Linked DNA regions of Homo sapiens: all the other regions are linked to region 2. The links are contacts of gene promoters, found by promoter capture Hi-C in human tissues and cell types (Jung and others, 2019). All regions are on one chromosome and are shown on one strand. Each heading gives the region's core, a stretch centred on a gene start or on the middle of the fragment in contact. The rest is flanking DNA. Distances are from core to core; before and after follow the strand shown.

Region 1 (2,700 bases), core at 57-2,556, 140 kb after region 2:
TTTTTTTTTTTTTTTTTTGAGACAGAGTCTGGCTCTTGTCACCCAGGCTGGAGTGCAGTGGCATGATCTAGGCTCACTGCAACCTCCACCTCCTGGGTTCAAGTGAGCATGTCCAGCTAATTTTTGTATTTTGTAGAGATGGAGTTTCACCATGTTGGCCAGGCTGGTCTTGAACTTCTGATCTCAGGTGACCTGCTTGCTTTGGCCTCCCAAAGTGCTGGGATTACAGGCGTGAGTGCTTGCCTGGCCTCTTGTTTCCGTTTTAAGATGGGAGAAGTAACAGCCTGTGATGGGAATGACCCAGGGAGAATGGAGAGAGGGCAGGGTTTCGGGATCAGTGTTGGCGTGAAGGGTCGGGATCTTCTGGAGGGGGTGGTCGTGGCCAGGAGCTGGACGGGTTCAGCCCGGTCCCAAGAGGGAAGGGACTGGGTGCTACCTCAGCGGGTGGGTGGGGGAGCTGGTGGGAATTTTCTACTGATTCCTTCATTCGAAGTGTATTTATTGGGCACCCATTGAGTGCCAGGCTCTTTCTCAGGGCTAGGATAGAGGTTCCATTTTCTCAGTGGCTTGGGCACTGGGTCATCAGCTGAGTGAGAGGATGGGCGTCAGCACTCAAGAAGTCACCCAATGGTTTCATTTTTTGCAGTCTTTGTTGTCCCAGAGGAGTAAGAACTAAAAGCACCAGGACTGTGACATGCTGGAAACATGGCATGTTCCAAAGAGAATAAAATACAGTTTTATGATACACGAATTGTGTGTGATACATTCCAATTTCTCACATTGAACAAATTACCAATAGCAATATGTGTGAAGATGGGGCGAGGTGAGAGTGAGGAGGAGGAGTAGAGAAAGGACGGGGCGGCGTTAAGGATACAGCAAATAACTGGAATTCCGCAAACACTGGGGTGATGCAGGCAATGCCCTTAGCACGGTCCCGGCAGGAGGCGGTGGGATCAGGCCGACCCGGGTCCCAGGGGTGACAGCGTCCCTTCTCCACTGCAGAATATCGAGGTACTCAACCCTCTGAACCTCAGTTTTCTCATCAGTTCAATGGGGAAAACGGGATGGTAACCCGTAATACTGGCGGCGCGGAGGCCGGGGAGCGCTCCCTACCTGTTGGCCGGCGGACTGGGGACTGTCCGCACCCGCCCCGGGGAGCAGCGAGGGCGCGCGGGCGGGGTCGCGGGGACCCCGCAAGGGCTCTGGGGACCGGGACCCGCAGGGTAGGTCGGGACGGGCGGGGCGGGGCGGCCTGACCCCGCCCCGGGCCGGAGGGGCGGTGCTGCCTCCCGCCGGGCCCCAGGCACTGCCCTCCGGCCGCCGCGCCGCCCGCCCGCCGGGGCCCCGCTGTCCGCCGCCCGCCGCCGCTGGAGCTAGAGGTACGAGGGGCCGCGCCGATGTTGCGGGGGACGGGGGCTCCAGGGGGATCCTGCGGCTCGCAGTGGGGAGGAGGCGCCTCGGGAAGGCAGGGGCAGGGGCGGAGGGGCTGGGCCGCCGCCCTAGCCCGGGCCACCTGTTCTGGAGGCGACATTTGTGCGCGCACGAACCCCGCGCGGCGGTCCCGGCCACCGCCTCCACCCCAACTGCGCCCCGAAGTGGAGCGCGGCGGCGGGACCCGGAGCCCCGGCCCTCGCGGGCAGGACGCGCCTGGCTCCGGAGCCCTCGAGGGCAGCCCCACCCGGTTGGGTCCCGGGGCTGGAGAGAGGGCGTCGGGGAGAAGCCGGGTTCGAGGCAGGCTCTGCCCGGCCACCGTGGGTGAGTCGCGCTCCTCCGTCCGGGGGAAGCCTGGGCGTCGGGCGGTGCTCGCCCCGGAGCGGATGCGACCGGGGACGGGGATGGAGAGCGGCCGGCAGGAGGGGGCTCTGCCGGGCTGGCAGCGTCGGCGCCGGCCTTAGGGAGGGTGAGGATTTGGACCTGCCCAGAAGCGGGAAGGGCCCTCCCCGTGCGGGAAACGGCCTGGGTACGAGCTGGGCACGGGGCGAGCCGGTTGGAGTCGCCCGGCCTCCGCGCTCGCCTCGGATCCGCAGGCGCCCCTCCCTCCTCTCCAGCTGGGGAAGGTTGAGGACTGAGCGGGAGCGGAACTGGGCTTGGGAGAGGATCTGCCGGGGCACCTGGTCCCAGCGCCCATCCCGTTTCACTGCCAGGGCGAGTCCCCTTCCCTCAGTTTCATCACCTGTCATCCGGAGGGACAAGTTCCCACCTGGATAGTCTCGGCTGAGCCTCTGGCCCTGAGTGGGTTAAAGCGCCATTTCCCCTGCACCCACCTTTCCCTCACGACACCCTCTCTGCGGCTTCCTCCCCTCCGCCAACGTCGAGTGATTGTTCCGCGAAGGCCCCTTGGGGTCACGTACCCTGCACTCAGCAAATAACCCCGAGCACCTGGTGGGTCTCAGGCCAGGTCTGGCCTTCCCGTTCCCGCCACCAGCTGCCCAAAGACTTCCCCTTTGTCACCTCCTCCCAAAGAATGAGGGAGCCACCCTGCCCAGGGTCCCATAGCAGAGTGCGGATGGAGCCAGGCCTCCCTCAAGATTTCCCACAGCCCTCTTCCAGCCTCAAACCTTCTCCAGGACCCGAAACCCTGCTACACTGTGTTTCCATAGCTGCAACCCCCCAAAAGAGGGTCCCCAAATCAAAGGAATACAAAGGAAAACAAAATAGAAAGGAAAAGAAAGGAAGAGGAGAGATGGAATCCTCTCTGTC
Region 2 (2,755 bases), core at 196-2,695:
ACCATGGTTTATTTTATTTTACTTTTTGAGACAGGGTCTTGGTCTGTCGCCCATGCTGGAGTGCAGTGGTGCGATCTTGGCTCACTGCAGCCTCGACCTCCTGGACTAAAGCGATCCTCCCACCTCAGCCTCCCAAGTAGCTAGGACTACAGGCCCATGCCAGCATGCCCGGCTAATTTTTGCATTTTTTTATAGAGACGGGGTTTCACCATATTATCCAGTCTGGTCTTGAACTCCTGAGCTCAAGTGATCCTCCCGCCTCAGCCTCCCAAAGTGCTGGGATCACAGGCATGAGCCCCTGAGACTGCAAATAAACCATGCTTTAGAGAAGGTAAGTGTCTTGACCAAGGCCACAGAGCTAGGAAGCAGCTGGCTGAACTGGGATTGAGGCCAAGGTAGTGCCTTTGATGCCAAAACCTGCTGTCCTTCCTCACTATCACCCAACCTCTTTCCAGTGGCTCCACACCCATTGTGGTGACAGAGGCACCTTCTGCTGAGTGTAAACTCTTCTGGCTGGAATTGTTTCCCAGAGGGTAGGGTGCAGCCCCGAGGGCCGGGGTTAAAAGTCAAGCTTCTCATCTGGACTCATCAGTTCTGACTGAGCACTTCTGCCTCAACCCGCACTGCCATCTCTCCATGAACGTGACACAAAAGCCCTTGGTTTCAGAAAGCCAGTTTCCGGGCAAAGAAAGCTTTCCACCCAGGGCCTGGCGTGAGCTGAGGGCAAGAATTAAAAAGAGTCGGGCGCGGCGGCTCACGTCTGTAATCCCAGCAATTTGGAAGGCCGAAGTGGGTGGATCACCTGAAGTCAGGAGTTCGAGACCAGCCTGGGCAACATGGTGAAACCCTGGTCTCTACTAAAAATACAAAAATTAGCCGGGCGTGGTGATGTACGCCTGTAATCCCACCTACTCGGGAGGCTGAGGCAGGAGAATCGCTTGAACCAGGGAGGTTGCAAGGAGCCGCAATCGCGCCATTACACTCCAGCCTGGGGGACAGAGCGAGGCTCCGTCTCAAAAAAAAAAAAAAAAAAAGGGAAGGCCACCAGCTAAGGTCCGGCGTCAAGGCACGGGCCCTCCGTCCGTCTCGTGCCGAAGGAGGGCGCGTGCGCCCCTTCCCCTGCCTCTGACCTTTCCATGGAAGCAGCCCGTTAGGCGAAATGGCGATCGACCAGGCGAAACGTTGGTGGATCCTATGGCAGCGCGCGTGGCAGGCAGCCACACCCGGGCCCGGCTTCGCCCAGCGCTAAGGGCGTGGAGCCGCGCCGCAAATGGCGCGCGAGCCTCCTGCGCACGCGCGTGCAGCGCCTGGGGTCGGGCCAGCGGCGCGGCTGAAGCGAGGGCGGGGAGGGAAAGCGAGCGGCGCCTGCGCCCCGGCGGTGGACGGGCCCGGTCGTGGGCGGGGATTGGGGCGGAGCCTGACCGTTACGCGCAGCCCCGCCCCCGCGGCCTCGTCGCTCCTGCTGAGGCGGTAGCCGCTTTTCGTCGACTCTTACCGGTTGGCTGGGCCAGCTGCGCCGCGGCTCACAGCTGACGATGGGGGACCCCAGCAAGCAGGACATCTTGACCATCTTCAAGCGCCTCCGCTCGGTGCCCACTAACAAGGTAGCGGCCGCGGGCGAGTGCGGGCCTGCCTGGCATCCCTGCGGGAACCGGCGGGAGGCCCCGCGGGCGCCAGTGCCCGTGGCTTGGGAGGCGGGGCCGGCGCGGCCTGTGACACGTCGCACTGTGGGGCCGCGGCAGCCTGGCCGGGCCGGGGCGGGCGGGGCCGGGCAGCTGAGAGGCCCGGGCGGGAGGCCGCAGCGCGGGGGTCCTCACGCGAGCCGGGGAGCGTTCCCGGGGGCGGCGGCGCGGGCACACCCCCCGGCGAGCTCTTGGGGCGGGGGGCGAGCACCGGCGGCTCTGAGCGGAGGCGGGGGCGGGGGCATCCTCGGGGGCGCTGCGAGGAGGGAGCTCCCGGCTCGGAAACCCCGGCTGCTGGCGCCGGATGCGGGGAAAGCGCGGCTCCCCCAGCGCCACCCTGGAGCTCGACCCCGCCTGTTGGAGCCGGCTTGGCTCCTCGGGCCTTGCGGTGCCTGCCTCAGTTTCTCTTCTGATAAAGTTGCCGAGTAGTCTACGCTTTGGCTTCCAGCTTTTGTCGCTTTGGCCAGGGAGGCTCACCACAGCCTCCTCCCTCTCCTCGGTTCTCTTTGGAGATGGAGGTTTCCTTTTTTTTTTTGTCTCCAGAGGCTGTTCTCTCCCTGGAACTTTTACAGCTTTGCGCAGCTGGCTGGAGGCGTTGGGGTGACGCAGGGGGCTAAGGTGACACGTCGGGTCGGAGAGGGACTTGGAGAGTGCAAAGGGCTGTCGCGTCAGCGTGGGCTCTCCCCGCCCCTCCTGTGACACGAGTGTTGTCTGGTTCCCACTGTCACTTCCCGAAGGGAACAGCTGTTATTGAACCTCGATATGCTGGCATAGAAAGTTCCCGAGTGTTACAAAATAGGTGTTTCTGTTGGTTTTAAGTCTTGATGGTACAGGGGAGCCCATATTTTTTCCAGCCTAGGTGAGGAAGGAAACAGTTTATTGGAGGTGATGTCTGATGGATGTGGGAAAGTTAAGAGAAAGGCTCCAGGAATTCTCCAGTGCCCGTTTCTTTACTGTTCTCTTGATTTTCACATTTTTATTTATTTATTTTTTTAGAGACAGGGTCTCACCCCGTCACCCAGGCTGAAGTGTAGTGCCTTGATCCTAGCTCACTGCAGCCTTGACCTACCCAG
Region 3 (2,734 bases), core at 132-2,631, 250 kb after region 2:
CTGCCTGCTTCCTGGTTGTAGATGGTCTTTTTGCTGAGTCCTGACATGGTGGAAGGGGCCAAGGAGCTTTCTGGGGCTTCTTCCTTATAAAGGGCACTAATCCCATTTGTGAAGTCTCTGTCCTCATGACTTAATCACTTCCCAAAGGCCACCACCTTCTACCACCATCACATTGCAGATTAGGCTTCAACAGAGGAATTTTGGGGGGACACAGATGTTCAGTCTGTATTACCGCCTTAGGTTTGGTACTGGCATATTGGAGGCAGCAGGTGTTTTTCCATTATTTGAGGGATAACAAGATGAAGGTCCACGTTTGCTTTTATTGGTACCAGGTAGACTCACCTTTGGCTGCACTTCTGGTATTCATTAGCAGAGGAACTGACAGCCAATCTCACTCCAGCCACTGGAATGCAGCAGTGGGAGAGTGCCAGTGACTGACCCAGTATGAGAGATGCCTCCTGGGAGGTCCAGGCAGTGAAGTGGGAGGCAATACAGGAACTCGTTTATGCAGCAGAGTTTACCCTCTAACAGCAGGTCAGAGATCCTCAACATGGCTCTTCTCCAGAATCACCCATGGAGTTAAAAATGCAGATGGCCAGGCCTCGCCCCAGATTTTGGATTCAGCATCTAGGGTGGGATCTGGACAGCTCTGTATTTAAGAAGCTCCACAGGAGTTTCTGACACTCAGCCAGGGCTCGATGCTGCTTAGGAGGTGCTGGGCCCTGCAAAAGGACTGAACCCCATTCTCCTCCCCCCGCCCCACCCAGGGTAGGGAGAGAAAAAAGGAAACAAGCAGGTATAATAATAGGCACAGAGGAGAGTTGGCCTGGAGAAATCCGGGAGGGTTTCCCAAAGAGCACCCCTTGACATAGGAGTCCGCAGGCAGAGCGTCTGCCGCATGAGTGGCCGTTGAGGGTAGCTATTGTAGAGAGGCCTGAGGGTGGGAGGCGACAGAAGAAGCCCAAAGACCTTGGGGAGGATCTCCAGCGCTATACTCAGGAGGGCCTTCTGTTCACTTTCAAGCCACTGTAGGCCAACAGAGGAACCCAAGAAAGAGACCGGGGCCTGTTTATGGAGTTTCATTCATTTCCAGTTAAAAAAAATATTTTATTTTAAATTCAGGGGGTACATGTACATGTTTGTTCCATGGATTATATTGCATACTGGTGAGGATTAGGTTTCTAGTGTACCCATTACCCAAATAGCGAACCCTGTACCCGATCATTTCCAATTTCAGTGGTTTCTGTATTTGATATTTTTGCTATTGCAATTTTTTCTTTCTTTCCTACCAAGTCTTTGTGTTTTCTGTTTTCCTCTAGCTCTAAGCCAGACCCATATGTTTGCTCTCTTGGTCTTAGCCCAGTAGATGGTGTCTGCCTTCCTTAGAGACACTCTTTGTTAATCATTGAGCCTCTCCAAACCTGCTTCTCCCACTGTAAAGTGGGCATAGTAAGTACTTCTCAGGGTGCTGAGAGGGCTGAGTGAGAACATGGATGGGGATGGGCCTTGGAAACTAAAGTTACTCCTCAGATGAGTGGGATTAGATTTGGTGGATGTTTATTTTATTTGACTGGCATTGTTGGGAAGTTATTGTCCATGTTGGTGTCTCAAGACACGTGGTCTAGGAAGCAAAACACTCTTAACTAGGAATAAAACTTGCCAGCCCCTCTCTCTTAATTTTGCTTAAAATGCAAAGTTAAAAGCCATCATGAAACCAGGAAAGGAGTCATCATGTAGGCATAATCGTTTATTCAATCACAGGCAAGGAGCCGCTTTCTGATTCTCCAGGGCCTCCTCTGTCCCCAGTGTTACCACAGTTCCGCTTTCATAGACTGCTGTAGATACCCAGATCCACTTAATATTGATTGCAATTTATATTTACAGGCTTAATGCCAGACCGGGAGTTGGAGGTGTCCGATCTCGAGTTGGGATCCAGCAAGGCCTTCTCAGCCAGTCAACACGCACAGCCACCTTCCAGCAGAGATTTGATGCCCGGCAGAAGATTGGCCTCTCAGATGCCCGGCTCAAACTGGGAGTCAAGGATGCCCGGGAGAAGCTTTTGCAGAAAGATGCCCGATTTCGAATCAAAGGGAAAGTGCAGGATGCCAGAGAGATGTTGAACTCTCGCAAGCAGCAGACCACGGTGCCCCAGAAGCCCCGCCAGGTTGCTGATGCCCGGGAGAAGATCAGCTTGAAGAGGAGTTCCCCTGCTGCCTTCATAAACCCACCCATTGGGACAGTGACCCCTGCTCTGAAGCTCACCAAAACCATCCAGGTGAGTTGTGGCTTTTGTCATGAATTCCCAGAAAGCTAGTAACAAAGGTAGATTTAGAGGCAAGGTGCCAGGAGTGACTGGGCAAAAATACTATCCTCTCAAGTGTTGGCATAATACAGACTTTGCTCCTTACAGAGGCTTTAAGTACGTTATAGCCAAGGAACTATACAAGGAAGGAAAGGTATTATCTCAGTTCTAAAAAAAAAGAAAAAGGAGGCCCATAGAAATTTGGTGACTTTCCCAGGTGAGATACTGGTGGAAGAAAGAGAGAGGAAAGGACAAAAGATTTATTGAGCACATGCTATGTGGCAGGCCCTTAATATCTGTGACCTTACAGTCCTCACTCCACCCCCAGGCCCAGTGGGATTTGGCCCCTAGTCCAAGGCCCTGGCCACCCTTCACAGCTGCCACCACAGAGGGAAAGGAAACAATGTCATTTAACCTTCATAGCAGCTTTGG

What was found. Contacts are between HindIII fragments. The study calls those that stand out against the background at their distance.
Region 1: the fragment with the promoter of A4GALT here is called in contact with the fragment with the promoter of ARFGAP3 in region 2 in 2 of the 25 tissues and cell types used here (lymphoblastoid cells and spleen).
Region 3: a contact is called between a fragment that was not itself captured here and the fragment with the promoter of ARFGAP3 in region 2, in 1 of the 25 tissues and cell types used here (heart right ventricle).

What each region holds. Positions count from the first base shown.
Region 1 is chr22:42,719,476-42,722,175 of GRCh38, reverse strand. It overlaps A4GALT (alpha 1,4-galactosyltransferase (P1PK blood group)), which reads left to right and starts at 1,306. Exons shown (of 3, transcript NM_017436.7): 1 at 1,306-1,379. RefSeq lists silencers at 1,207-1,396, 1,427-1,656, 1,737-1,866. The HindIII fragment of the contact is 38,593 bases long and covers 1-2,700 here.
Region 2 is chr22:42,855,963-42,858,717 of GRCh38, reverse strand. ARFGAP3 (ARF GTPase activating protein 3) reads left to right here and starts at 1,445. Exons shown (of 16, transcript NM_014570.5): 1 at 1,445-1,604. The coding sequence starts at 1,536. RefSeq lists a silencer at 1,170-1,919 and an enhancer at 1,442-2,286. The HindIII fragment of the contact is 10,713 bases long and covers 1-2,755 here.
Region 3 is chr22:42,602,311-42,605,044 of GRCh38, reverse strand. It overlaps POLDIP3 (DNA polymerase delta interacting protein 3), which reads left to right. Exons shown (of 9, transcript NM_032311.5): 2 at 1,885-2,275. Among named protein-coding and RNA genes, the nearest start is that of POLDIP3, 11 kb to the left of the region's middle. RefSeq lists an enhancer at 2,548-2,734. The HindIII fragment of the contact is 5,402 bases long and covers 1-2,734 here.